Linked DNA regions of Homo sapiens: all the other regions are linked to region 1. The links are contacts of gene promoters, found by promoter capture Hi-C in blood cells and fetal thymus (Javierre and others, 2016). All regions are on one chromosome and are shown on one strand. Each heading gives the region's core, a stretch centred on a gene start or on the middle of the fragment in contact. The rest is flanking DNA. Distances are from core to core; before and after follow the strand shown.

Evidence for each region. The method cuts DNA at HindIII sites, captures the fragments that hold promoters and counts their contacts. A CHiCAGO score of 5 or more calls a contact.
Region 2: a contact is called between a fragment that was not itself captured here and the fragment with the promoter of AQP11 in region 1, in 1 of 17 cell types (M0 macrophages). The highest score is 5.4, in M0 macrophages.
Region 3: a contact is called between a fragment that was not itself captured here and the fragment with the promoter of AQP11 in region 1, in 1 of 17 cell types (M0 macrophages). The highest score is 5.3, in M0 macrophages.

The regions. Positions count from the first base shown.
Region 1 is chr11:77,586,883-77,591,948 of GRCh38, forward strand. AQP11 (aquaporin 11) reads left to right here and starts at 3,071. Exons shown (of 3, transcript NM_173039.3): 1 at 3,071-3,729. The coding sequence starts at 3,111. RefSeq lists a silencer at 2,418-3,047. The HindIII fragment of the contact is 3,851 bases long and covers 1-3,678 here.
Region 2 is chr11:77,228,636-77,233,701 of GRCh38, forward strand. It overlaps GDPD4 (glycerophosphodiester phosphodiesterase domain containing 4), which reads right to left. Exons shown (of 17, transcript NM_182833.3): 14 at 4,390-4,537; 15 at 515-597. Among named protein-coding and RNA genes, the nearest start is that of GDPD4, 71 kb to the right of the region's middle. The HindIII fragment of the contact is 3,548 bases long and covers 297-3,844 here.
Region 3 is chr11:77,286,193-77,291,258 of GRCh38, forward strand. GDPD4 (glycerophosphodiester phosphodiesterase domain containing 4) reads right to left here. Exons shown (of 17, transcript NM_182833.3): 2 at 1,026-1,228. Among named protein-coding and RNA genes, the nearest start is that of GDPD4, 13 kb to the right of the region's middle. The HindIII fragment of the contact is 3,283 bases long and covers 1,153-4,435 here.

The sequences.
Region 1 (5,066 bases), core at 1,821-4,320:
GCACGGGGACTCCTCTAGGCTTTCTCTGTTTGCAAAATGCAGTGCCTCTGCCTCTCTTCTTTCTCCCTCTTCTCTTTACCCCTTAACTCCTATTTATTCTTCAGGTTTCAGCTAGGATGACACTTCCTCCAAGGAGCCTTTCCTTAAGTCTGAGTGGGGGCCCCTCCCTGTGCCCAGGCCTTTCTTCTTTTACCATTGTACTTTTACACTATATTTTAATTTTGTTTTCTCTTCTGTTCCCTCTTCTATGCTATTCAAGAGCAAGGACTGTTTTTACTGCTGTTTTACCAAAGCTAACAGAGGTCTTCGTCCATGATGTCACTCTCAAGAGACTTTAATTGGTGATTTCTTGTTTCTGAAAATAGGAAGGTTGATTTGATGCAAAATATCCAATCAGTAGTAATTAATTATGTTAATTTTGCCCTTGTTCTTTAATTTAAAAAATGTCCAAAGTCCTTTTAATGACAATATGTATTACCACGATACTAAAATTTCTTACCAAAGTCCAAAACACTGGTTTTCTACATGACTCTTCCGGGTAAAAGTGAATTATCAGCAGAGCAGTAAATAAAATACATTCACATTAATCCTCAAGTGACTTCAAGTCTAGGGGAGCACTGAAAGGGTTACATTCATAGGATTGATTTAAAGGCAACTTCTTTAAACAGCAGTGACTTAAAAGTAATTCTAATTGCCGGGCGCGGTGGCTCACGCCTGTAATCCCAGCACTTTGGGAGGCCGAGGCGGGCAGATCACAAGGTCAGGAGATCAAGATCATCCTGGCTAACACAGTGAAACGCCATCTCTGCTAAAAAATACAAAAAAAAAAAAAAAAAAAAAAAAAAAAAAAAAAAAAAAGCCAGGTGTGGTGGCAGGCGCCTGTAGTCCCAGCTACTCGGGAGGCTGAGGCAGGAGAATGGCGTGAACCCGGGAGCAGAAGTTGCAGTGAGCTGAGATCACGCCATTACACTCCAGTCTGGGAGACAGAGCGAGACTCTGTCTTAAAAAAATAATAATAATAAATAATTCTAATTTAAATTCTTTCTGGCCAGGCAATCAACACAGGAAAGAGAAAAGGTCTTGATTTTCTACTAGTTTGTGTCTTGTGAAAGAATTTTTTTTTTTTTTAGACGAAGTCTCACTCTGTTGCTCAAACTGGAGTGCAGTGGCACTGTCTTGGCTCACTGCAACCTCCACCTCCCGGGTTCAAGGGATTCTCTTGCCTCAGCCTCCCGAGTAGCTGGGACTACATGTGCGCACCACCATGCCCAGCTAATTTTTGTATTTCTAGTAGAGACGGGGTTTCACTATGTTGGCCAGGCTGGTCTTGAACTCCTGACCTCGTTATCCGCCTGCCTCGGACTCCCAAAGTGCTGCACCTACAATGGGCCACCCCAGGGGACAAGCTGTTGGGACTGGAATGCGGTGGCAAGAGCCGTGCACTCTGGCTGCTGAAACCTGCTGTTTCCACTGTAAGCTACCACTTAGTGAATATTTTCTACGTATTGGGAACTGTACTAAGTGGCTTTCATGTTTTGTTTTTTGTTTGTTTGACTGGTTTGTTGTTGTTGTTGTTGTTGTTGTTGTTGTTTTTGAGACGGAGTTTCGCTCTTGTTGCCCAGGCTGGAGTACAATGGCGCGATCTAGGCTCACCACAACCTCTGCCTCCCGGGTTCAAGCGATTCTCCTGCATCATCCTCCCGAGTAGCTGGGATGACAGGCATGCGCCACCATGCCCGGCTAATTTTGTATTTTTAGTAGAGACGGGGGTTTCTCATGTTGGTCAGGCTAGTCTCGAACTCCCGACCTCCGGTGATCCGCCCGCCTCGGCCTCCCAAAGTGCTGGGATTATAGGCGTGAGCCACCGCGCCCAGCCGCGCCCGGTTTTTGTTGTTGTTTTTGTTTCTAAAAACAGCGTCTCGCTCTGTGGCCCAGGCAGGGGTGCAGTGGCGCGATCTCAGCTCACTGCAGCCTGGAACTCCTGGGGTCAAGCGGTCTTCCCACCTAAGCCTCTCCGTGCTGGGACTCCGGACGCGCTCCACCTCACGCAGCCGTATTCCTGCTTTCAAAGCAGATGGAAGAGGTGCGCCAGGACCCCCAGTTCTTGGAAACAGACCTCTCCAGTTACCTGTTGTTTCCTCTTCACGAAGAGTGCATGTAACAGTAAGACACAACTGTTTCATATTATACGTAAAGAGTTCATGCCAAAGGTTATAGACAGTCACATGCTAAAACTAGGCTACACTTTGAAGAATCACCGCTCAAGTTCTGGAAAAAAGAGGTGACTGTTGAACAACACTGTGAGGGTAATCGATGCCACTGAAATATACACTTAAATTGATTAAAGTGGCGAATTTTATCTGGCATATATTACCACCATTTTTAGAAATGTTTTTTGGCAGGTGAAGAAAAGCAAGGCTCCAGGAGGCCCTGCGCACCGGTCTACGCCCACTAACTCACCCGCCCCCTGCGCCGCGTCTCCCCTCTCAATTTCAGTCGCCCATTGATAAAAACGAGGTGGCTATGTGAGATGGCCTTCAGCGGTCTTTCCAGCTCCACGGTTTTACAGTGTGGAGCGGGGAAAGAAAAACTCTAAGGTCCTCGCTGCAAAGCAACCATCAGAGCTCCGCCGCGCCGTGCCGCTCCTCTCCGCCCCGTGGTCCGGGTGTCACCGCCCGCAGGGGCGCAAGGGCCGCAGCACGCGTGCGCAGTGGGCACCAAGAGCGCTGCGTCGACCGCGCCGCGCCGGCCCTCCGCCGCCGCGCCCGCCTACAAGGCCCTGAGGGAGACTGCGGAGGGTGAGTGCGCGGTGGGCTCGGCTGACCGTTGGCCCTGCGGCCGGCGCCCTAGGCTACCTCCCTTCGCCTCCCCGCGCCTCCCCGCGCCTCCCCGCCTCCCCGCCTCCCCGCCTCCTCGGCTCTGGTTCCAACACCCCAGCGCCAAGCCGGGGAGGCGGGGAGGACTTCTTAAGTGTGCCGCTCGGGAGCCTCCCGCTCGTCCCGCCCCGAGGGGCGTGAGGAGGGGAGGGGCTGCGGACTTCGGACTCGGGCCTGGAGACCGCCTCCTACCCAGAGCCGGAGCCCGCAACCCGCTCAGGCGGCGACGGAGCCATGTCGCCGCTGCTGGGGCTCCGGTCCGAGCTGCAGGACACCTGCACCTCGCTGGGACTGATGCTGTCGGTGGTGCTGCTCATGGGGCTGGCCCGCGTAGTCGCCCGGCAGCAGCTGCACAGGCCGGTGGCCCACGCCTTCGTCCTGGAGTTTCTAGCCACCTTCCAGCTCTGCTGCTGCACCCACGAGCTGCAACTGCTGAGCGAACAGCACCCCGCGCACCCCACCTGGACGCTGACGCTCGTCTACTTCTTCTCGCTTGTGCATGGCCTGACTCTGGTGGGCACGTCCAGCAACCCGTGCGGCGTGATGATGCAGATGATGCTGGGGGGCATGTCCCCCGAGACGGGTGCGGTGAGGCTATTGGCTCAGCTGGTTAGTGCCCTGTGCAGCAGGTACTGCACAAGCGCCTTGTGGAGCTTGGGTCTGACCCAGTATCACGTCAGCGAGAGGAGCTTCGCTTGCAAGAATCCCATCCGAGTCGACTTGCTCAAAGCGGTCATCACAGAGGCCGTCTGCTCCTTTCTCTTCCACAGCGCTCTGCTGCACTTCCAGGAAGTCCGAACCAAGCTTCGTATCCACCTGCTGGCTGCACTCATCACCTTTTTGGTCTATGCAGGTTTGTCATTCTCACCAAATACTTGGCACTTCCAGAGCCTCTATGACATGAGGCTGTAAGTTCTTTACTAAAATACATTTGAAACCGTCTATCCCGCTATGATGTAAATGCTGGTATCCCCGTTATTCTAACCATTTTGCAGCCCGTTCTTAACCAGTAGGGCCGACACGTAGAGCCTTCATGCAGTGCTGCTTTGAACACCCAGAGAAAGGAGCCACCTCTGTGCTGAAACTGAGATACTGTGAGATATTGCCAAGGGTTCAGATATCCTACAAAGGGATTGTTTTAATGGTAGAAAGGAAAGATAACTTATTAACTGCCTCTTTCTTCATGCCAAGGTGGTATAGATCGTTTCGGATACTCTTACTGAAAAATGATCCTGGCTTTACAAAGTTCCTTTCGATTTAAAGCACAAGGCACATGATTGGTTAGTATAAGAGCGGAGGGTAGAAATTTTGTAGTTCCATTTTAGTCCTATAAATGATTTAAAGTCATTTCTTATTTCCTTAATAATTCATTTTGAGTTATGAAATTTCTTATTTCCTTAATAATTCATTTTGAGTTATACATGAACTTTTAAGTGACCTATTAAGAAAAATGTTTAAATGATAACTTGCTTCAAATTAAAGATGCTTTTTAAAATATAACTCTTGAGAAATCTGTTGATTTCTTTTAAACCATTTGTTTACTTTGACAGATCTCAGATGCAGTGGGCAATCTAGTCCTAAGTGGGAGGAGGAAATCCAAAACACAAGTATTTAATGATGAAATGTGTCATTTTAAATGATTACAACAGAATATCTTTATTGGGACTACATCTAAATTATAAAAGACTGTGGAGGCAGAAATAACAACAAAGGAAATTTGTGGTAATAATCTTCTGCCCATTAAAAGTGAAACAATGACTAGAAGCAAACTTCAAGATAAGGACTCCTAAACACGTACTTGACCTTCTAGGGTAAAAATGAAAGCCTTCAGCCGGGCGCGGTGGCTCACGCCTGTAATCCCAGCACTTTGGGAGACCGAGGTGGGTGGATCACCTGAGGTCAGGAGTTTGAGACCAGCCTCGCCAACATGGTGAAACCCCGTCTCTACTAAAAATACAAAAAAAATTTAGCCAGGCATGGTGGTGGGCGCCTGTAATCTCAGCTACTCGGGAATCTGAGGCGGGAGAATTGCTGGAACCCGGGAGGCGGAGGTTGCAGTGAGCTGAGATCGCGCCATTTTACTCCAGCCCAGGCGACAACAGTGAGACTCTGTCTCAAAAAAAAGAAAGAAAGCAAGCCTTCCCAATCAATTTCCCCTTCTTTAGGTCTAGTACCACTTTTTAAGTAGAC
Region 2 (5,066 bases), core at 821-3,320, 360 kb before region 1:
CCACTGCATGCCACCGCACTCCAGCCTGGGCAATAGACTGAGACCCCATCTCAAAAAAACGAACAAAAAAAATATTATGGCCCAGAAAGAAGCAGTTGTTTTCCCAGGGTCACCTAGCAACTAAGGGACAAAGCCAGAGCTAAAACCCAGTCTTCCTGGTTTATGAACTTGCTCTTTGCACACTGCTATGCCATTTCATGGAAGATGGGAAGGTGGAGGCACTTGTTCTGGACAATATTCAAGCCCTGTCATCTTTCAACTGCTCCACATTGAATCCATAGTAATAGGCTTGACTAAGCTTTAGTGACAGTCCCTATCCTGAAAATATTGTCTTATTTGGGGGAGGTCAAAGGGGTGTGAGGAACTGCAGACTACATGAGAAGAGAGATTCAGATTATAAACGCCATCTTGCCATGTGGGATTACGGGAAGAGCGTAACTCTTATTTTTCTCAATTTCCTATAATAATCCATTTATTTTGGAAAAAATTCATTTAAAATTATATATATACTTACCAGTGAAAACAAAATATGGCAACAATAAAAAGCACAGAAATGATATCTGCAAGGAGCCACATGAACACATAGAACTTTGGTGTCTGAAAAACATAAACCACAGTGAAAGAACTTTACAGTTAGAAGGGATTTTGGATCATACGGTCTAAGTCCCTTGCTCTGCTGCCAGGGCTGGAGGAGGAGAGGAAGAGGGGATAGACAGGCCAAGGAACCTTGATTGATGTGGCATTCTCAAACACAGACAGTCCCTGCAAGTGTCCTAACAGTCACCCTTATACATGCAGGGGGCTCTAGAGGGAATAGAACACTTCACACCTTTCATCTCACCTTTCATCTCCCAAGACAGAGGGCAGAGGGGGTCCCAGAGAAGTCACACAACAAGTCTATTCTGGACCCAAGACCACAGTCCAGGTTCTTGACTTCTACTGCTGTTTTCAAGGCATGGCTTCTCAAACCTGGCTGTGCAGCCAAGTCTCCCGGGGCAGCTTTTAGTAATACAGGTTTCTGGGTCTCACTAGACACCTAAGGAATGAGAATCTCTGCATTTTTAACACATTCCCAGGTGATGCTGAAGCCATGTGTCTGTAAGCCAGCATTTGGGAACCATTGTTCTAAAGTATCACACTTTAATTAAGAATGCTGAAGTACAATTACCCCTTACCTACATGCTCCTCTTCTATGCTCCTTGCCCAAATCATCTATTTCCCAGAGCTCTGTCTTCTGGGTCCTCTCATTGAGTTTGATGCTCCCTTTCCACCTCAATTGTGCCCTCTCTAATTCCACTTGATGCTAATAGGGCTGGCACATTTTATCCTTTCTCAGACCACTCTCCACCCTATCCCAAGGTCTTTCCTTGAGCTGAATAATAAAATTAATAACACTAATGATCATAATTAACAATAAGCAATTAACAGGAGCCAGGCAGGTATTCTAAGCACTTCAGGGGTATTTACAGATTTAAGCCTCATAATAGCCCTACTAGTAGAAAATCTTAACCAACTTCCACTGAACTGAGGCTCTTAATCCCCTCTGGGAAAAATATTGACTGAGGGCTGCTGTAGTTGGCTGATTGCTCCAAGAGGCCTACCAGATAAGCAGAATGTTCACAAAGAATCAGTTATCCTTGTTTCCCAAATGGCTTAAGTCAACTGTACTTGTTATTGTAATAGTGCAATGTAATTAGATGCTGCTTAAATTTGTGAGATCTGAGTGAAAAAAGTATGTCATTTTCAAAGAAACTAAGTCAAATGCTTTGAAAAACTCAATGAGGACAAAATAGATCATTAAAGAATAGACAGCAATTAGATTAGGTGTAGGTGAAACACTACAAGGGTTTGAGGGATTATAAAGATCTAGGTAGATTGCTCATTCAGATTGATTGTCCTAATGACTTTAAGTTCCTGTTCTGCTTAAAACAAACAGTTAGAAATCCTAGCTAGTTCATCTGGATGTTTAAATGAGAGAACATAGAACTCGATCAGCAGAAATATCCTCAAAGAAATGACTGTCAAAAGGTGAATGAATATTTTAAAATAAAATTTGTGAAGTATGTATGTGGCATACTGTTTATAAAAATGACCACAAAATTCCTTCCAAACCTATATGCAGGCCCCTACACAACGTGACTTAGCTGTGCCTCCCTATCAAGAGGTGAAGTCTGTTTCTCTCCCACCCTGAATCTGAATTTGGCCAGGTGATTTTCCTTGGCCAATGGAACATCAGCAAACATAACACTGTGAGAACTTTGAAAAGTCCATGTGCTTTGGGGCTTGCTCTCTCTTGCTGTTGGGAACCCATCTCCACTAGGTGAACACACTCCAGCTAGCTGCCTTGAGGATGAGCGACGACACGAAGAGAAACTTGGTCATTCCAGGTGCGCCTCTAGACAAATGAACAAGGCATCCTAGACTATCCAGCCCAGCTGACTTGGCTCAAACCAGAGACACCACCTAGCCATCAGCCAGAATTGAGACATGATAAATATTTGTTTAAGACACTAAGTTTTAGGTAGTTTTTATTAAGCATTAAAAGCTAACTGATAAAGTGTATATCATTTTTAAATGATTCCTCACTTTAATTTTCTCAATTACGAGACCAATGACCAGACCAGATTATGTTGGACACAAGTGTTTCTACTGCACTATTATTATCCCCAATTTTCAAACAGAAGAAACAAAAAAGCCAAAAACCACAAACACATTAACTAGTATTTCCACATTCACACAGTAAGTAATGGAGCCAAGATCTGAATCTAAATCTCAATCAGTCTAACTCTGGAGTGTAGGCTTCCTGTTAAGACCTCTGGGACACCAGCCTCACCTCCCTGAATAAAATGACACATGGCATAGGCTGGGAACCATGCATTGGGTCCTTTAAAAATGCCTAGACTAGGTGTGGAAGGAAGATTGGTTTTCTTACATATATCCTTTTAAACTTTTTGATTTTTGAATCACATGGATTTATTCATTTAAATATTAAAATGAAAAAAACGCATTCAGAAATAGCATCATTTAAGTAAATGTGTACCTCCCAAAGGGACAACTTTGAGACATTACTGATTCAGGGGATAGGATTATGGAGGGGTGTGCTGCTTTCTAAATTATGCATTTTTGTAATGACTGGATTTTAAAATGTTAGAAAAACACATAGTATATACATGAAGGGGAGTTATATGGGGACAGGTGGGTGGAAAGGCTCCACCTGTGCTGAGTGACCTGCCATCCAAAGCTCCCTTCAGGGTCATCTCCAGGAAGCTGACCAAGCCACCATAGTAAGAAGTCAGCGATTTCTCCTGTCTACCAGAGGGCCTAGATGCAGTTACTGGCCCTGTAAGACTGTGCCTTGACTCTGGATCCCTTTTCCCCTGGTCCTGACCCTGAACAGGTCAGAAGCTCAGGCCAGAGGGTGGAGATCTGGAGGAGGTGACTTGAGGCCCCTTCCCTCTTAGGCTTCTCTGACAAAGGCTTTAACTTTCAAGGCCATTTGGAGTTTGGGTTATTACTTGGGATTGGACTCTTAATTCTGAAGTGAGGCTTTTTGATGACTAAAAGTGAACTTCTAAAAGTTATCTAACAGTGACTGGAAAAGCTACAGGACCTAAGTGAGATTTCATTCAGGGGCAGAGAAAGGCCTACATCACAGACCAGGTTTAAAGAATCAATGCAGCGAAATTAAACTGTTTTCTGTTGTATGCTATTGTGTCCCACTCAGTCAACCTACTCTCTGTACAGATAAGAACAAGTTCTGTAGCAGTAACTGGTTAGCTAGGGCTCCCTCCACAGATAGTGATAGGATTTGGCTGGGATCGTAAACCAGGTCTTCAGGTTCTCAAGCTTCTGGCAGTAAGCAACAGAAGGCCTAGAACATGCAACTGGACACTGGCTACCCTCTTCAAAAGCCATTTGTTAGGGCACACAGTTTCCACTTTGGAGTCAAGTACGCTTGGTTTTCTCCCCACTCTCCATGCCGTTGTCAATTGTTGCCATGCCTCTACAAAGGTGGGGCTACAGTAACAAAACTCTGAAGTCAGACCTCATTCTGAATCCTGCCTCATGAAACCACATGCAAAGATATCTTTGAGCTTCAGTTTCCTCATGAAGATGATAACAGTGGCCAATTCAAAGGGTTAAATGACATAACGCATGTCAAGCACATTGTAAGGATTCAATAAATGTCAATTATTATAACAACACTAATTTTTGCCTGAAAATCCCAGAAGGATCTGTGAGAATGGAAAATACCACATCTCCAATATTCATAGAAGTCTGTACTCTTAAGTGGCTGCCCAGGGGATGGCACAGTGGGCAACACAGGGCTGGGGGGCCTGCACTGCTATCATACCAAGCCTGGAAGAACAATCTGGACAACCAGCTCACCATGAAGAAGTGAGGGTGATCAAGCTGACTCAGGAGCCCAATGTTGTCTGTGGTCACTGAGTTAATCCTGGAGCACCAGGCCAGTGAGAAAAGCCAAGGCTCATTGACGGTGTATACGTTGATATGGATGTTAGCTGCTTTATAATCTCTGGAACAAAAACAGAACCCACAGGGGATTTAGATCAAGTTTCATTCTCATCATCTAAAAGGAGAACAGCCACCATGTTTGTGAAAGGCTGTTGCCTAAATCACCAGAAGCAGCTGATCCAGGGACAATTCATGATACGATGTGACAGAATGGGCTCATAGTACAATAAGATAAAGGATTGGATTTAGCACCTCTGCTCCTGTAGCAACAGTGGTGTGCTGGTAAACCAAATGTCCTAAGGAGAATAATAAAAAGGAAGAAAGAAAACATATTGAAAAAAAAAAAAAAAAAAAGAATGGGGAAAAGGAAAAAGGAAAACCCTATTGTAGCATATGCAAATTTCCATGGTAAAAACACTCCTACCATAGCCAACTGTAAGCTACCATTGGTAGAACCAATTTGCAGAGTTTCTGAATATTTAATAACAAGCTGGTATGAGCTGGCTCTGGCATGCTACTATGTAGCAGCACCTATATACTCGCTTCTATCAGAGCACTTATCACCCCGTACTCGAATGATCTGCTCATTT
Region 3 (5,066 bases), core at 1,544-4,043, 300 kb before region 1:
ATTCTTCCACCATCCCCAATTCTCTACCTATCCAATTCTTAATCACCCATCACCTTCTAAAAGGTGGCCCTCCCCTTGGTATGTGCCTGTGTACATGCGCATACAGTTACAGCACTTCTCTCACTATATTGAGATTGTGTGTGTACTTATCTTTCCCCACAGTAGACTGAATTCCTTGAGAGCAGGAACCATGCCTGAAGCACTTGTATTATCCCCAGTGACTAGCATAGAGGCCGAATATCTGGGCAGGAAAGATACAGTGGGGACAGAAGAACATTCCTTCCTACTGCAGGGAAACCTCCCATTTCCTACCCCTTTCCTTGTGTTCCCCACCTCAGGTATAAGAAATTAATGACCCAACTGGTCTGATTCTGGGACCCTAGTTGGACCATGTTTACAAATAAGTAAAGGTACATGATTTTGCTCTTCTGTTCTCATTTCAGTGTGCTGATCATTTAATCACTTATACCATGTAGCTCACCAAAGGGTTCCAACATATGGCTTACAAATAGAGGCCCTAAAAAAGGCTAGTCCACGTGCCACCACTCAGCCTTACTAGAGTTCTTCCTCAGGGAAAATCACCACTAGCTTGACCAATAATAAAGGAGCACCTTGTTTCTCACTTGCTGTTTTTTTCTCCTGCGAAGAGAAATTCACAGAGGAGAGCAAATTACAATTCAGGCATCCCTGTAATCCGTAACCAAAAATATCTAATTGCACCCAAACATCACTTTTTCTTCAAGATTCACTGAATGAATAAATGCAAAAGTGAATTAATGAATAAACATAAAAGAGGTAGTAAGGAAAAGTAAAGAATAAAAGTGAAAAATGAAGTGAAGGAAAGAAAATGAAGAAAGCAAGTACATGTTTCAGTAAGTTTAACATTGGTGCAATACTTTTATGGAAGAAATGGAGCCCTAGCATCCCCAGTCCTGGAGACCATAAAGAGCCCTCATGGGGCCCAGCAGTCAGCCTATGCTCCCCGCATCTGAGAAAATGTGGTCCAGCTCCTTATCAGTCTGTACCCAAGTGCAGCAACAAAATCCAACTTTAGTTTTTTCCCATTGTCTGAATTTCCAGAGGCAACTATAGCAGCCAGTAAGGAAGGTGACAAAGCATTTGTGGTTGAAGATGCGTGGAATCCATGGATTAAGCTTTTTTGGTTTTTCTGTCTTATTCCTCTTGTGCTCAATCCTGTTGACCTTCTTAAACATGATTCACCCTTTAGCTGGAAAGACAAATAAAATAATCAGGATCTAGTGTCGCTCCCCTTAATGTACCTTATCCCACCATTCTACAGAAAATTTTATCAAAGACAGATGGATTTTTAAAAAACTGTTTATAATCAAAGGTAATATACTGGATTTGGGGCAGAAGAATAGAGTTTCTTCCTACCTTTCCCTCCCACTAACTTGTTGAGTGTTTACTGTGATCACTGCATCACTCTAGGTTTAGTTTTCTCACCTCTAAAGTGGGACAATATTCCCTGTCCTCACCAACTAATAAATGCTGAAAGAATCAAATTAGATAATATATGCAAACGTGCTTCTCAAATTGCAATATGCTGTTGAAATAACTTGAGACGTTAAAGGCACGGGTGAGGTACATGAAAATACCATCGTTGACTAATAAGTGACTCAGACACACAGCTGGCTGCTCCTTCCCTTTCTCTCCTCTCCCATATGGAATCAGTTAGGGTTAGCTTCAATTATGAATGATGGAATCTTCAAAACAACAATGGCTGAAATGTGACAAGTTTATTTTTCCTTTGCCAACAAAAAATATTTCAGAGATAGAACAAAATATGTAGCATGTGGCTTCACAATGGCACTAAGAACACAGGCACCTACCACAACCTGCACCTGTGTACATCATCAAGGAGCCTGAGGACAGGCCAACATCACCTGGCACTACTACCACCACCAATGCCTACCCACACATGCCAGCTGGGGACCTATAGACTGACCCACCCATCCTATTGCTGTCACTGCTAGCACCAGTGCATGTTACCTGGGAGACCAAAGATTGGCCCCCTAACACTACTGCCATCGCTGATACCACACATGCTGCCCAGGGCTCCAGGTCCCACCCACCTGCCCTGCACACTGCTAACACTGCCAGTACCCAAGCAAGCCACCTAGAGACCTAAAAATTGGCCCACCTCGACCTGCTAACACCAGTGCCTGTGTACACTGGCCAGGGGTCCAAGGACAGGAACAATCGGCCTGCCACCACCACCACTGGGGCCTGAGGATTGGCCTGCCTGATTTCCCCATTCCCAGCAAAGTCTCACCACAGCCTGTGCTAACAACCAGAGCCTAAACCACTGACAAAATCATAGACACCACTGATATTGATTACAGCCAAAGAAATCCCAGGGAGACTATACTACTGCATGAACCCAGAATAAAAACTAAAGTGCCCCACCCAACCAACTCTACAGATACATCTACAAGAAAAAAAAATCTTCCCCTATGAAAGCCAACCCAAAAAATTAGAAAAGGCAACTGTTACAGCAGATGTGCAGATATCAACATAAGGACACAAAAAACATGAAAAAGCAAGGAAACATGACAACTTCGAAGTAATGTGATAATTATCCAGCAAGAGATTCCAATGTAAAAGAAATGTGTGAAATGCCTACAAATAATTTAAAATAACAATATTAAATATACTCAATGAGATACAAGAGAACACAGATAAATAATACAAAGAAATCAGAAAAACAATTCAAAATCCGAATGAGATAATTCAATAAGGAGATATTAGTTCAGAACCTGAAGACAAGTCATTTGAAATAACCCAGTAAGGTGAAAGAAACAGAAGGAGGGGAGGGGAGGGGAGGGAAGCGGGAGAGAGAAAGAAAGAGAAGGAAAAGTGGAAGGAAGGAAGCCTGGCTGGGCACTGTGGCTCACACCCAGCACTTTGGGAGGCCAAGGTGGATGGATCATTTGAGGTCAGGAGTTCGAGACCAGCTTGGCCAACATGATGAAAACTCGTCTCTAATAAAAAATACAAAAATTAGCTGGGCTTGGTAGTGCACATCTGTAATCCCAAGTACTTGGGAGGCTGAGGCAGGAGAATCACTTGAACCTGGAAGGCGGAGGTTGCAGTGAGCCAAGATCGCACCACTGCACTCCAGCCTAGGTGACAGAGCAATACTCCATCTCAAAAAAGAGGGGAGGGGAGGGGAAAAGGAGGGAAGACGGAAAGAGACAGAGAGAGAAAGAGAGAGAGAAGGCAGGCCGGCTGGCCATAGTGGCTTATGCCTGTAATCCCAGCACTCTGGGAGGCCGAGGCAGGGGGTGGGGGGAATCATTTAAGGTCAGGAGTTCGAGACCAGCCTGGCCAACATGATGAAACCCCGTCTCTACTAAAAATATAAAAAATTAGCCATGCATGGTAGTGCACATCTATAATCACAGTTACTTGCGAGGCTGAGGCAGAAGAATTGTTTGAACCTGGAAGGCGGAGGTTGCAGTGAGCTGAGATTGCACCACTGCACTCCAGCCTGGGTGACAGAGCAAGACTCCATCTCAAAAAAGAAGGAAGGCAGGCAGGCAGGGAAGGAAGGAGGGAGCGAGGGAGGGGAGGGAAAGAGAGAGAGAGAAGGAGGGAGGGAAGGAAGGGAGGGAGGGAGGGGAAGGAAAGGAGGGAGGGAGAAGGGAGGGAGGAGGGAGGGAAAAGAATAAAGAAACCCTACATGACATTTTTGAAAACCATAAAGTGACCAAGTACTCGAATTTTGGATATTCCAGAAGAAGAGGTGGGGAAAAGCATCGAAAACCAATTTAATAAAATAATCACTGAAAACTTCCCAAGTCTTACAAGGGGTTCAGACATCCAGATAGTGGAAGCTCAAAGATCCCCAAATAGATTTAACCGAAAAAGGTCTTCTCCAAGGCACTTTATAGTCAAACTGCCAAAAGCCAAAGACAGAGAATTCCAAAAACAGCAAGAGAAAAGCATCAAGTCACACATAAGAGAAACCAGTCAGACTAATAGTGGATTTCTCAGTAGAAATCTTACACGATAGGAGAGGATGGCCTGAAAGAAAACAAAGACCAAATGGACCTAACAGATATATACAGAACATTTTATCCAACAATTACAGAATACACATTCTTCCCATCGGCACATAAAACATTCTCCAGGATAGACTACATGTTAGGTCACAAAACAAGTCTAAACAAATTTGTAAAAATCTAAATCACATTAAGTATCTTTTCTGACCACAATGGAAAAAAAGTAGAAATCAATAACAAGAGAAATTTTTGAAACTGTAAAAATACATGGAAATTATTTTAACAACTTGGTCCTGATTGACCATTGGTCAATGAAGAAATTAAGAAGAAAAAAAAATTATTGAAACAAATGAAATTAAAAAACACATACTAAAACCTATGTGATACAGCAAGAGGAATGTTGAGAGGGAAGCTTATACCAATAAACATTTACATCAAAAGTAGAAAGATTTCAAATAAATAATTATGCACCTCAAGGAACTGGAAAACCAAGAACAAACCAAAGCCCTTCTATTTCTCAACAGAAGACATACAAATAGCCAACAGGTATATGAAAAAATGTTCAATATCACTAATAATTAGGGAAATGCAAATCAACACCACAGTGAGACATTATCTTACCCCTGTTAGAAGGGCTATTATCAAAAAGACAAAAAATAAAGAAGCTGGCAAAGATAGAGGGCACTCTTACACACTGTTGGTGGGAACATAAATTAGTACAGCCCATAAAAAACAATATGGAGATTTCTCAAAAAACTAAAATATTGTAGTAACCATATGATCCAGCAATTCCACCACTTGGTAGTTATCCAAAGAAAGGAAATCAGTATATCAAAAGGATACCTGCATCCCTATGTTTATTGCAGGACTACGCACAATTGCAAAGATAGAGAACCACCCTAAGTGTCCATTAATGGACAAATGGATAAAGAAAATGAGCTTATATATGCAATGCAATACTCTTCGGCCATAAAAAGAAAATGAAATTCTGTCATTTGCAGCAGTATGGATGGTACTGGTGGTCATTATGTTCAGTGAAAT